Linked DNA regions of Homo sapiens: all the other regions are linked to region 2. Evidence: promoter capture Hi-C in 16 types of primary human blood cells and fetal thymus (Javierre and others, 2016). All regions are on one chromosome and are shown on one strand. Each heading gives the region's core, a stretch centred on a gene start or on the middle of the fragment in contact. The rest is flanking DNA. Distances are from core to core; before and after follow the strand shown.

What was found. Contacts are between HindIII fragments. The CHiCAGO score rates a contact against its expected background, and 5 or more counts as called.
Region 1: a fragment that was not itself captured here is called in contact with the fragment with the promoter of LPCAT2 in region 2 in 1 of 17 cell types (endothelial precursors); the score reaches 5.1 in endothelial precursors.
Region 3: a contact is called between a fragment that was not itself captured here and the fragment with the promoter of LPCAT2 in region 2, in 1 of 17 cell types (M0 macrophages). The highest score is 7.0, in M0 macrophages.

The regions. Positions count from the first base shown.
Region 1 is chr16:53,503,744-53,507,090 of GRCh38, forward strand. LOC124903690 (a long non-coding RNA gene) reads left to right here and starts at 637. Exons shown (of 2, transcript XR_007065069.1): 1 at 637-677; 2 at 998-2,235. It also overlaps a transcript of AKTIP not described here. RefSeq lists an enhancer at 124-223 and a silencer at 544-633. The HindIII fragment of the contact is 1,012 bases long and covers 960-1,971 here.
Region 2 is chr16:55,507,416-55,510,550 of GRCh38, forward strand. It overlaps LPCAT2 (lysophosphatidylcholine acyltransferase 2), which reads left to right and starts at 1,657. Exons shown (of 14, transcript NM_017839.5): 1 at 1,657-1,937. The coding sequence starts at 1,767. The HindIII fragment of the contact is 4,685 bases long and covers 1-2,505 here.
Region 3 is chr16:53,093,034-53,096,058 of GRCh38, forward strand. All of the region lies in intron 1 of CHD9 (chromodomain helicase DNA binding protein 9), which reads left to right. Among named protein-coding and RNA genes, the nearest start is that of CHD9, 40 kb to the left of the region's middle. The HindIII fragment of the contact is 2,568 bases long and covers 315-2,882 here.

The DNA of each region.
Region 1 (3,347 bases), core at 216-2,715, 2.0 Mb before region 2:
GGCGCTGCGAGGCCCGAGGCCGCCACGTCGGGCCCACAGGGTACCAGGGGTCAGAAGGACACTTGGCGTGGCATCAAGAAACGCCCGTTCTCTCCATCAGTGCAGGAGCTGAAGGCTGGAGCTGAAGGGAGCTCAGCTCCAAGTGGGCCCTGGGCACTAGAGCAGCCAGAGGAGCTTTGTAAATCTGTGTGTGTCGGCCCCGACCTGCAGCATCCGAGTGGGGGCCGGGGGCTGGGGGGAGGGGGGAGGCTGAGGACCAGGAATCCACATCTGTCACAGTTCGCTGCTGATTCTGGCGCACACTGAAGTTGGAGAACCTCTCCCATAGCAACATAGTTCCTGGTCTTTTTTTTTTTTTTTTTTTTTAATTCACACGCTCTCATTTGGACCTCCCGTCTGCTTTCCCATGGAGGTCTCTCTCTGGCCTAATTCTGTGACTGCTGCCAGCTGCTTTCCAGGCCTGTTCTTACCAACGGTGCCTCCCCGTGGTTAGTCCGTCCAATCTCGGCACTCCACTTCCACACTTGCGCGACAGCCCTCTCCCCGCAAGCCCCTGCCCCTTTTCTAGACACCAGAGGCACTGACCTGTCTGTGACACCGCCTCAGTGTCTTACACTCAGAAGCCGCATTCTCTGGCCGGGTTGTTTGGTCCATTTTTGGTTGCCTCTGAGATTCTGGTAAGTGACTTATTAAAGGGCAGGAAGCCAAATTCTCCTGATGTTAATCCCAAGGGTTGGTTCTGAAACCCAGCTTCCTCCCCTAGCTGAAAACACTTCTGAGCCACTTCCTTTTGTCCCCTTAGGACACATTTAGGAATGTTATCATGCCTTTTAATACGAGTCTTAATACAGAAAGGCAGGCAAGCAGGAAATCCTTTTTTCAGGCCACAGGTGGTCTCCTTTGGCACCTCTGTGGCCCATTTCCTCCCAATCTTCTTTGAAGCTCATTATCCTCTGCAAAGCTTTTTTTCTGCTTTCCTCCTTTCCCCAACCTTCAGTTTTCACCGAGGACCCACATAGGTATTTCTCCAGCTCACATCTATCCACTGAGCTTCCAATGCATGTCATCAACTGCGTACTTGGCACCGGATGACTCAGACGCACACCAGCATCAGACTGCACATGGCAGGAAAGCCAACTCAAACCGGCTTACTTAGCAAGGGGATTTCTCTCCCATGGGAGGATTGTCTCCAGAGGTGGTGCCCTGGTCTTCAGGCTCTGCTTTCCTTGCAGTCCCTGGAATTGCACTTTCAGGCTGGTAGCAAGATGGCCGCGGCACACCCAGGATCTCACAAAATTAAAAGTATCCCTTTCTTCCAGTGGTCCCTTTTGAAATACATGACTACCTTTCCCAGAAGCTCCGCAGAAGAAATGCCTGCAGGTTTCAATGGCCAGAAGTAAGTCTCTGGCCACAACGAAACCCAGTCAACGGCAAGTGGAAGGAGTCCGCCATGATCGACTTGGGCTGAGATTTTCCCTAGATCTCTGCCTGGACTTTAGGCAGAGGAGAGCCATGATCAGATTTGTATTTTGAAAACATCACTTTGTGCGGAAAACAGATTGTAGGGGCACAAGGCTCACGGGGCAGTTGAGGAACCATGGCAGTAGTTCAGGCAACAGAGAATCGCATGAATTTGAAGGTAGAGATGGAGAATTGAATGAGTTCCAGAGATGTTTAAGACGGGATGATATAGTTTGGATATGGTTTGACCCTTCCAAACCTCATATTGAAATGTGACCCCCAATGTTGAAAGTGGGGCCTGGTGGGAGTATTTGGGTCATGGAGGCTGATCCCTCATGAAAGGCTTGGTGCTGTCCTGGCAGTAGTGAGTTCTTGGCAGTAGTGAGTGAGTTCTATTAGTTCCCGAGAGAATTGATTGTCAAAAAGAGCCTGTCACCTTCTCCTCCCCTGACCACTGCTCTCTCTCTTGCCAAATGATTCCTGCTGGCCTCTCCCTCTGCCATGAATGGAAGCTTCCTGAGGTCCTCACCAGAAGATGCTGGTGCCATGCTTCTTATACTTAGTTGCCTCTGTCTTTCATTTGACATATATTTATTGCATGCTTAATGACATCTAGGCTTTAAATGCTGGGGAGGCGTTGGAGAACAAAACAGACATTGTTCCTCCTCATGGAGCTACGGGAGATAGATGCTAATCAAGTCATCTCCCAAATCAATGGCTAATTGCCCCAAGGAAGTGGACAATGAGCTGAATAAACCTCTTTTTAAAAATAAATGACCCAGCCTCAGGTATTCCTTTATAGCAACACTGATGGATTCATACAGGTGGGGTGGACAGAGCTTGGCCATGGACTAGGTATGGGGGATGAAGAGGCAGATATGGCTGACACCTAGATTTTTAGCATGAGCTACAGGATGGATGGTGAGGCCATTCACTGAGGTGACAAACAGTGAACCACAAGCAGGTTTGGGACAGTGGGAAATGGGAAAATCTGGGTTGTGTTTTGGGTAGGTATGTTTGGGGTGTTTCTGTAAGCACTATTGCCTGTATACCTAATACCCACTTCTCCCTTTTTCATTGCTGACAGAACCTCCATTTTCTTGAGGAATTTAAGCCCTTCAGTGGTTCCCCATTGGGCAAAGACCAAACTCCTCACCATGGCTGTGTCCCAGCCCCAGGTGGCTGCAGACTCCAGCCACTCTGACATTCTTCCAGTTCCTTGGAAGGGAGTTGCTCCCCTACCTGCCCTGCCACAAAAGGGGCCTTCGCAGTGAACGTTCCCTTTGCCCAGTTCATTCTCTTCAATCCCCTACACAGATCTCAGCTCTAACACTACTTCCTTGGGGGCAATTTGCTGTTGATTTGGGAGATTATTAGTGTCTGTCTCCCACACTGTAAGCTCCTGAGGAGGAACCATTTTTTTGCTTTCTATTGTCTCCCCGGCACCCAAGAGCTAGATGTTGTAGGCATGCAATAAATATTTGCCAAATGAAGGACAGAAGAAACAAAAGTACATTTGAAACACCTACCTGCACGCCCACAGGTCTGCACCAAGAAAGCAACTCATTATGAAAATCAGGATGATTTATTCAAAGGGAAATGAGGAGGTGGCCTCAAGGTACCATTTCTTTAAGACTAAAACATAAAGTGCTGAGAAAAATCTCAATGGACCCAAAACCTTACCTATAAAACATTTTAAATCGCTTCATATTACATTTCCTATTCTCAATTTTTGAAGCATATTTGATATATTTGCACCAAAAGGTTCTTTTTGCATCCAGACTTAATAGATATGTGATCTCTGAGTATTCAGGACTTCTGCTCATGTTCTAATCAGCAAAATATTCCCTGAATCATACATCTTTTGGACTCCGGAAAAGTAACTG
Region 2 (3,135 bases), core at 407-2,906:
ATCAGGCAATCCACCCATCTCGGCCTCCCAAAGTGCTAGGATTATTGGTGTGAGCCACCACTCTCGGCCCCATCTTTTCTATCTTTTATCCTCCCATGGCCTGTCCCCTTGACTCAGATTCTTTTTGTTTCTTCTTCTTCTTTTTTTTTCTTTTTTGAGACAGTGTCTTTCTCTGTCACCCAGGCTGGAGTGCAATGGCATGATCATAGCTCACTGCAGACTTGATCTTCTGGGCTCAAGCAATCCTCCCACTTCAGCCTCCTGAGTAGCTGGGACTGCAGGCATGCAACAGCACAGCCAGCTAATTTTTAATTTTTTTTAGAGATGGTGGAGTCTCTCTTTGTTGCCCAGGCTGGTCTCGAACTCCTGGGCTCAAGGGATCCACCCTCCTCAGCCCCCAAAGTGCTAGGATTACAGGCGTGAGCCACTGCACCTGGCCTGGCTTAGGTTGTTGACAGTTGGAAAGACATCTTTCTGTGCAGGTATCTGGCTAAAGAGTCTCAAGGGTCTGCCAGTCCCAACTTGAAGACCCCCTAGACTGGGGAATCTTCTATCATGGCTGTAATGCACTGTTATTAATGTTCCCTGTTACACTGAGAGAAAAGTCAGTGGCTCCACAACATAATAATGCTTAAAACATGCCATTTCTTCAGTGTTTCTCTATGAACACTACACATGCATTATTTTATTTAATCCTTGCTACAATTCTATGGAGTTAGAATGAATCTCCCATTCCTAGACAAGGAAGCAAACTCAGGTTAAGTGACTGACTCAAGGCCACACATCTATGTGGTAGGGCTGGAAGATTCTGACATTCAGAGGGTAACTTTGGAGAACCCCAGGGCTCAGACTCAGATTTTCATCCTGGCCTTCCTACCTGCTGTGAGAAGAGTTGATCAGTTGGGATGAGTTGATTATCATCTCCTTCCTTTAACTCTCAGCCACTCAGGGTTGATCAACTGTCCTCAGATAATGGGACAAACCCCTGCCCTCCCACCCCCACGAGCACCCACATAGGTCCAAACAGGCTTGAACTTCCTCAGTGTGAAAGGGAGCCACAGCCCAATACATTTCCCTTTTCTGGGTCAGGTTCCTCATCTAGCGTGGAGGGCAACTGTAATTTTTGCCTTTTCTGGTAATAGTAGCTCAGTTTTCCTCTGGAGAACCATCTCTCCCCTGTCAGTCCATTATGTTTTGAGTGAAACAAATTCCACTCCTAGTGCCATCATGGGTGTATTAATATTAGCTCACTTAATGGAACAGCCCAGGGGAAGTGGTTGCTCAATGGCATTACTGGATCCAGGTTAGGATTATCTGAGAATACATTTATCTGCATTTTACGGAAGGCAACCGAGGTTCATAGAGATAGTGATTTGGCCAGCGTCACAGGCCCAGTAAAAGGGATTGAAAATCCAGGTCCGTCCGACCCTAAAGCAGGGAACTCTGCCTAGTGTCTCGCTGTGGAATGTTAGGGATCCTGGGGTACCCTTCAGGGTCTTGGCTCGGAAGGAAAACATTCCCCTCCGAGGGGATGGACTATATTACCAAGGGGGTGGAGCCAGATGCCTGAGGGGGTGTGGCCAGAGCCTGGGGCGTGTCACAGCCGAAGGGGCAGGGCGGCAGCAGCAGGCGTCTAAGTAACTTCAGCGCCTGCGCAGAGGCTCCCCAGCGTCGCCCTAGGCTGGGACTCTAGTAGGTCTTCGGCTCAGTTTTGGCTGCAGCGCCCGCGTAGATCGCTTCGGCCGGGTTCTACGCCCGGCTCAACTATGAGCCGGTGCGCCCAGGCGGCGGAAGTGGCGGCCACAGTGCCAGGTGCCGGCGTCGGGAACGTGGGGCTGCGGCCGCCCATGGTGCCCCGTCAGGCGTCCTTCTTCCCGCCGCCGGTGCCGAACCCCTTCGTGCAGCAGACGCAGATCGGCTCCGCGAGGCGGGTCCAGGTGAGGGGCGTGGGTCTGAGGGGAGAGGTGGTCTGAGGGGGGCCTAGGTCAGAGGGGGGTCCAGGTAAGGGGTGTGGGTCTGAGAGAGGAGGGCGGCCGAGGGGGGCGTGGGTCTGAGGGAGTGAGGTGGTCCGAGGCGGGCGAGAGTCTGAGGAGGGAGGTGGCCTGAAGGGGGCATGGGTCTGAGGAGGGAGGTGGCCCGAGGGGAGCCAGGGTCTGGGGCGGGTCCAGGTGACTGGTGTAGGTCTGACGGGGGAGGGCGGTCGAGGGGCGCGTGGGTCTGAGGGGCGTTGTGGGTCTGGGAAGCAAAGGCATCAGAGGAAGAAAGAGCAGTGGATCTGAGAGGAGAGGACTTCTGAGGGGCCGTGAGCCTGAAAGGGGCGGAGATGTGTGTCTGAGAATTGAGGACATTTAGAGGATGGTCTGAGCGGGCACGGGAGGAGAGAAGATGCTGGGAAGATGCGGGCCTGAGAGGAGAATCCAAAACAGGAAGAGACTGAGCTGGCTGGTGGCGCAGGCTACATTCCATGCCCCAGAAGGTTGAAGGAATCTGTGAATCTGTGACAGAAGCTTCAACTTGAGTTTATGAGAGTGTAGTGGGAGGCAGATCTACTACGGGAGAGTAGATTTGAAGAAGTCTTTTTTTTTTTTTTTTTGCCTTAGGAAGGAGAGGAGTCAGTATGGGATGGATAAGAGTGAGGCAGAAGGCAGAGAGCCTAGGTCTGTGGTTAGAACAACAGGTAAGGCTGGAAAGATTTAGCTGAGCAGGAGCATGATGGAGGGTGGGAAGTCAGAATCAAAGAAAAGGGACAACTGAGTCAGCTTAGGATGTTCAAGAAGTTTTGGTCCAGAATCAGTCTTCACCTAAAAACGTTTCCTAAGTTGAAGCATGAGAAGTAGTAGCCCAGGCTGTTTTCCATTGTTAAAAATGGCTATACTGTTATGCACAAAGGAAGTTTCCTTTCCTTTCCTTTTTCTTGTAAAGGGTTCCTTTTACCATTGGCAGTTGCACTCTTTGGACTTCCTCTTTGTTGAAGTTAGTGATCAGAGAACAAGATAGACCCTGCTAACCACATTTGTCCGTGTGTTCTGCGGGGGTTGGGGGGGTGGGGGAACAATTTTGAAGTTTTCATGTCCATCTCACACATTACTTTGGATTTGAAGCAGTATAATATTTGCAATCAGCTTGTATGCACTA
Region 3 (3,025 bases), core at 349-2,848, 2.4 Mb before region 2:
CTCCCAAAGTGTTGGGATTACAGGCATGAGCCATTATGCCCTGCTGCATCTGCACTTTAATATTGGATTCTTGAAGAGTGAGAAAGATATCAAAATTCAGTGACTCTCATCATTGCCTCTCAGGCACTAGGGCCACCCCTATGTTCCATTTTTAGGTGGTGAGCCTCTCTGAATCTGCAAATTCATATCACTTTGGTCACAACCTATTCAGCTAGCTATGTGGCCTTAGGAAAATCACTGACTTCTCTGAATCGCATTAACTCATCTGCAGAATGTGAATAACAATAGTACCCCCATTTATTGGGTTGTTGTAAAGCTTAGATGGGATTATCTATTACAGCCCTAAGCACTATGCGTGGCACATAGCCAAGATGCAATTAATGTTAGGGATTATCATCATCATCATTATTTTTACTCTAATCTGTCATAACCCAATTCGCTCATTCAAGAACTATTTATTGAGCACCTGCTATGTGCCAGGCATTGTCCTTGACCCTGAGAGTAGGGCAGTGAAGGAGTCATACAAGGTTCCTGCCTTCTAGGGGCTTACATTCTAGTACAAATGTACCACACCTTTCTGTTTGATAAGCACTTTCTTCCCCATTGTGTCATGTTGTTCTCACTAATGCCTTTCAATCAGGCAAAGGCGGTATGATTGTCCGCATTGTACAGATAGAAAGCTGAGGCTTAGAGAATTAAGCTAACAGAGATAGCTAGAAAGTGGCCAGGTACAACTTGATCTAGGGTCCTCCTGGCTCGTTTCTGTGCTCTCTCATGATGGACACTGATGATTGTTTTGGGGTGAGGGGCATGGAAGCAGCTCTCAGAGCCTTGAGAGCTCTGACCCACCAGCAGAAGCACAAAAGAGAACCAGGGACTGGCTTTGGTTCGATTGCGAGTGTCCCAGTTAGTTCTGTCCATGAAGTCTGTCAATGACTGGGCCTAACAATGTGTGCCTCTGCCCGGTGTCAGCCTTGGGGGCCTGGAGGAGACTTTATCTTAAGGAAAAAGTGCTTGCTTCAGCACATGGCCAGTGGGGCCTGGCTGTGACAGCAGGCAGCTCTGCTGTGGCAGCTCAGCTGTCTGAGAGCACTTCCCCTTGGGTTCCCCGCAGAGCAGGAGAGAAGGTGTCTAGGCCTATGGGCTTGGTGACCAAACTGCATGGTTTCTGGTAGTGTGCCTGGAACTCCTGCTGTGCAAGATTTCCTATATACACCCAGCATCCGCCTAGTCTGGGCTGGGCGGGGCAGGGCTGATCCTGTCTGAGAACACAGGAACTGGAAGTCTGTACCGGGGCAGGTGGCAGGGGCAGGCCTGGCAAAGACCCAGGGAGAGGACACCAAGGGCCAGCCACCGCACAGAGAGACCAGTGACTGAACATGGCTGGGCCGGGGTGTTTCCCAGCCCCGTCACAGTGAAAACTCACCCGTACCCGGTGACCCCAGGTGACAATTCTGAACCTGCAACAGCAGTGCATAACTGATAGTGTCACCTCTGCCTAATCCTCCTGGAAACACACACACACCCTGCTTTATTTCCCGTCTCTCAACACCCTTCCTTATGGGTACTTCATACCAGTCCCAAGAGCAGGCTTTTGTTTACTTTTTCTTTTTTTTTTTTTTTTGAGATGGAGTCTTCCTCTGTCGCCCAGGCTGGAGTGCAATGGTGTGATCTTGGCTCACTGAAACCTCTGCCTCCCGGGTTCAAGTGATTCTCCTCCCCCAGCCTCCTGAGTAGCTGGAATTACAGGCATGCACCACCACACCCCACTAATTTTGTATTTTTAGTAGATACAGGGTTTCGCCACGTTGGTCAGGTTGGTTTTGAACTCCTGACCTCAGGTGATCTGCCCGCCTCAGTCTCCCAAAGTGCTGGGATTACAGGCGTGAGCCACCGCGCCCGGCCTTGTTTTCCTTTTTACTGAATTTAAGTGCTTAGGGTTATTCACAATATTTGACTCATGACATTCTTTCATCTTCAGTTGGACCTTGTGCAACCTGCATCTGGTAATTTGTTATTTATCTGTTTGTGTATTTCCTTATAATACAGTCACTCCACTGCACGTTCTTCCCCTGTGTCCTCCCTTCCTATTACTTTGCCTTCCCCACCCTATTCTGAATATTGAGTTCATCATTCCTTTGCTCCTCTAAAAACTAATGCTTTTTCAAATATTTTTCTAAAAGCCATATTGTTTAGATTTGTTGTTTTTTCTTGTGTAAAGGAATATCCTGGCTAGGCGCAGTGGTTCATACCTATAATATCAGCACTTTGGGAGGGGGAGGCAGGAGGATCACTTGAAGCCAGGAGTTCAAGACCAGCCTGGGCAACACAGCAAGACCCTGTCTCTACAAAAAAATTTTTAAAATGTAGCTGGGCGTGGTGGTGTGTGCCTGTAGTCCCAGCTACTTGGGAGGCTGAGGCAGGAGGATTGCTTGAGCCCAGGAGATTGAGGCTGCAGTGAGCCATGATAGTGCCACTGCACTCCAACTTGGGCAACAGAGCAAGACCCTGTCTCTAAAAAAAAAAATTAAAATTAAAACAAAAAAGAATATCCTGCTATATGCAGCTTTCTTGGGTATACTTTTTTCTCATAATATTATGTGGCTAAAACTCACCCATAGCGTAGCATTCAGCTACGGTCCACTTGTTGTCCCTGCTCTATTGCAGTTCTCCCTAGTATGTTCCATGGGAATTTACTGAATCTCCTGTTAGTGGACATTTGGGTTGTTACCAGCTTTCCATGACTTTGAACACGCTAAGCTGATCATTTTTGTCTGTGTCTCCAGGGAAACAATGTGAATTTATCAATTTACAATCCCAGTAACAACAAACATATAAATATCCAATTGATCTGTGTTCTTTCCAACAATTTGGTATTATCAAGCTTCTTAATTTTTTCCAACTGAAAGGGTATTAAGTGACATCTCATTGTGATCTCTTCATGGTTATTGCCTTTCCAAATATGGTTTACAGTGGTCAGTTGGTGGAGCAGTGGGGGTCATCCTGCAAGGGGACTGTGAAGATT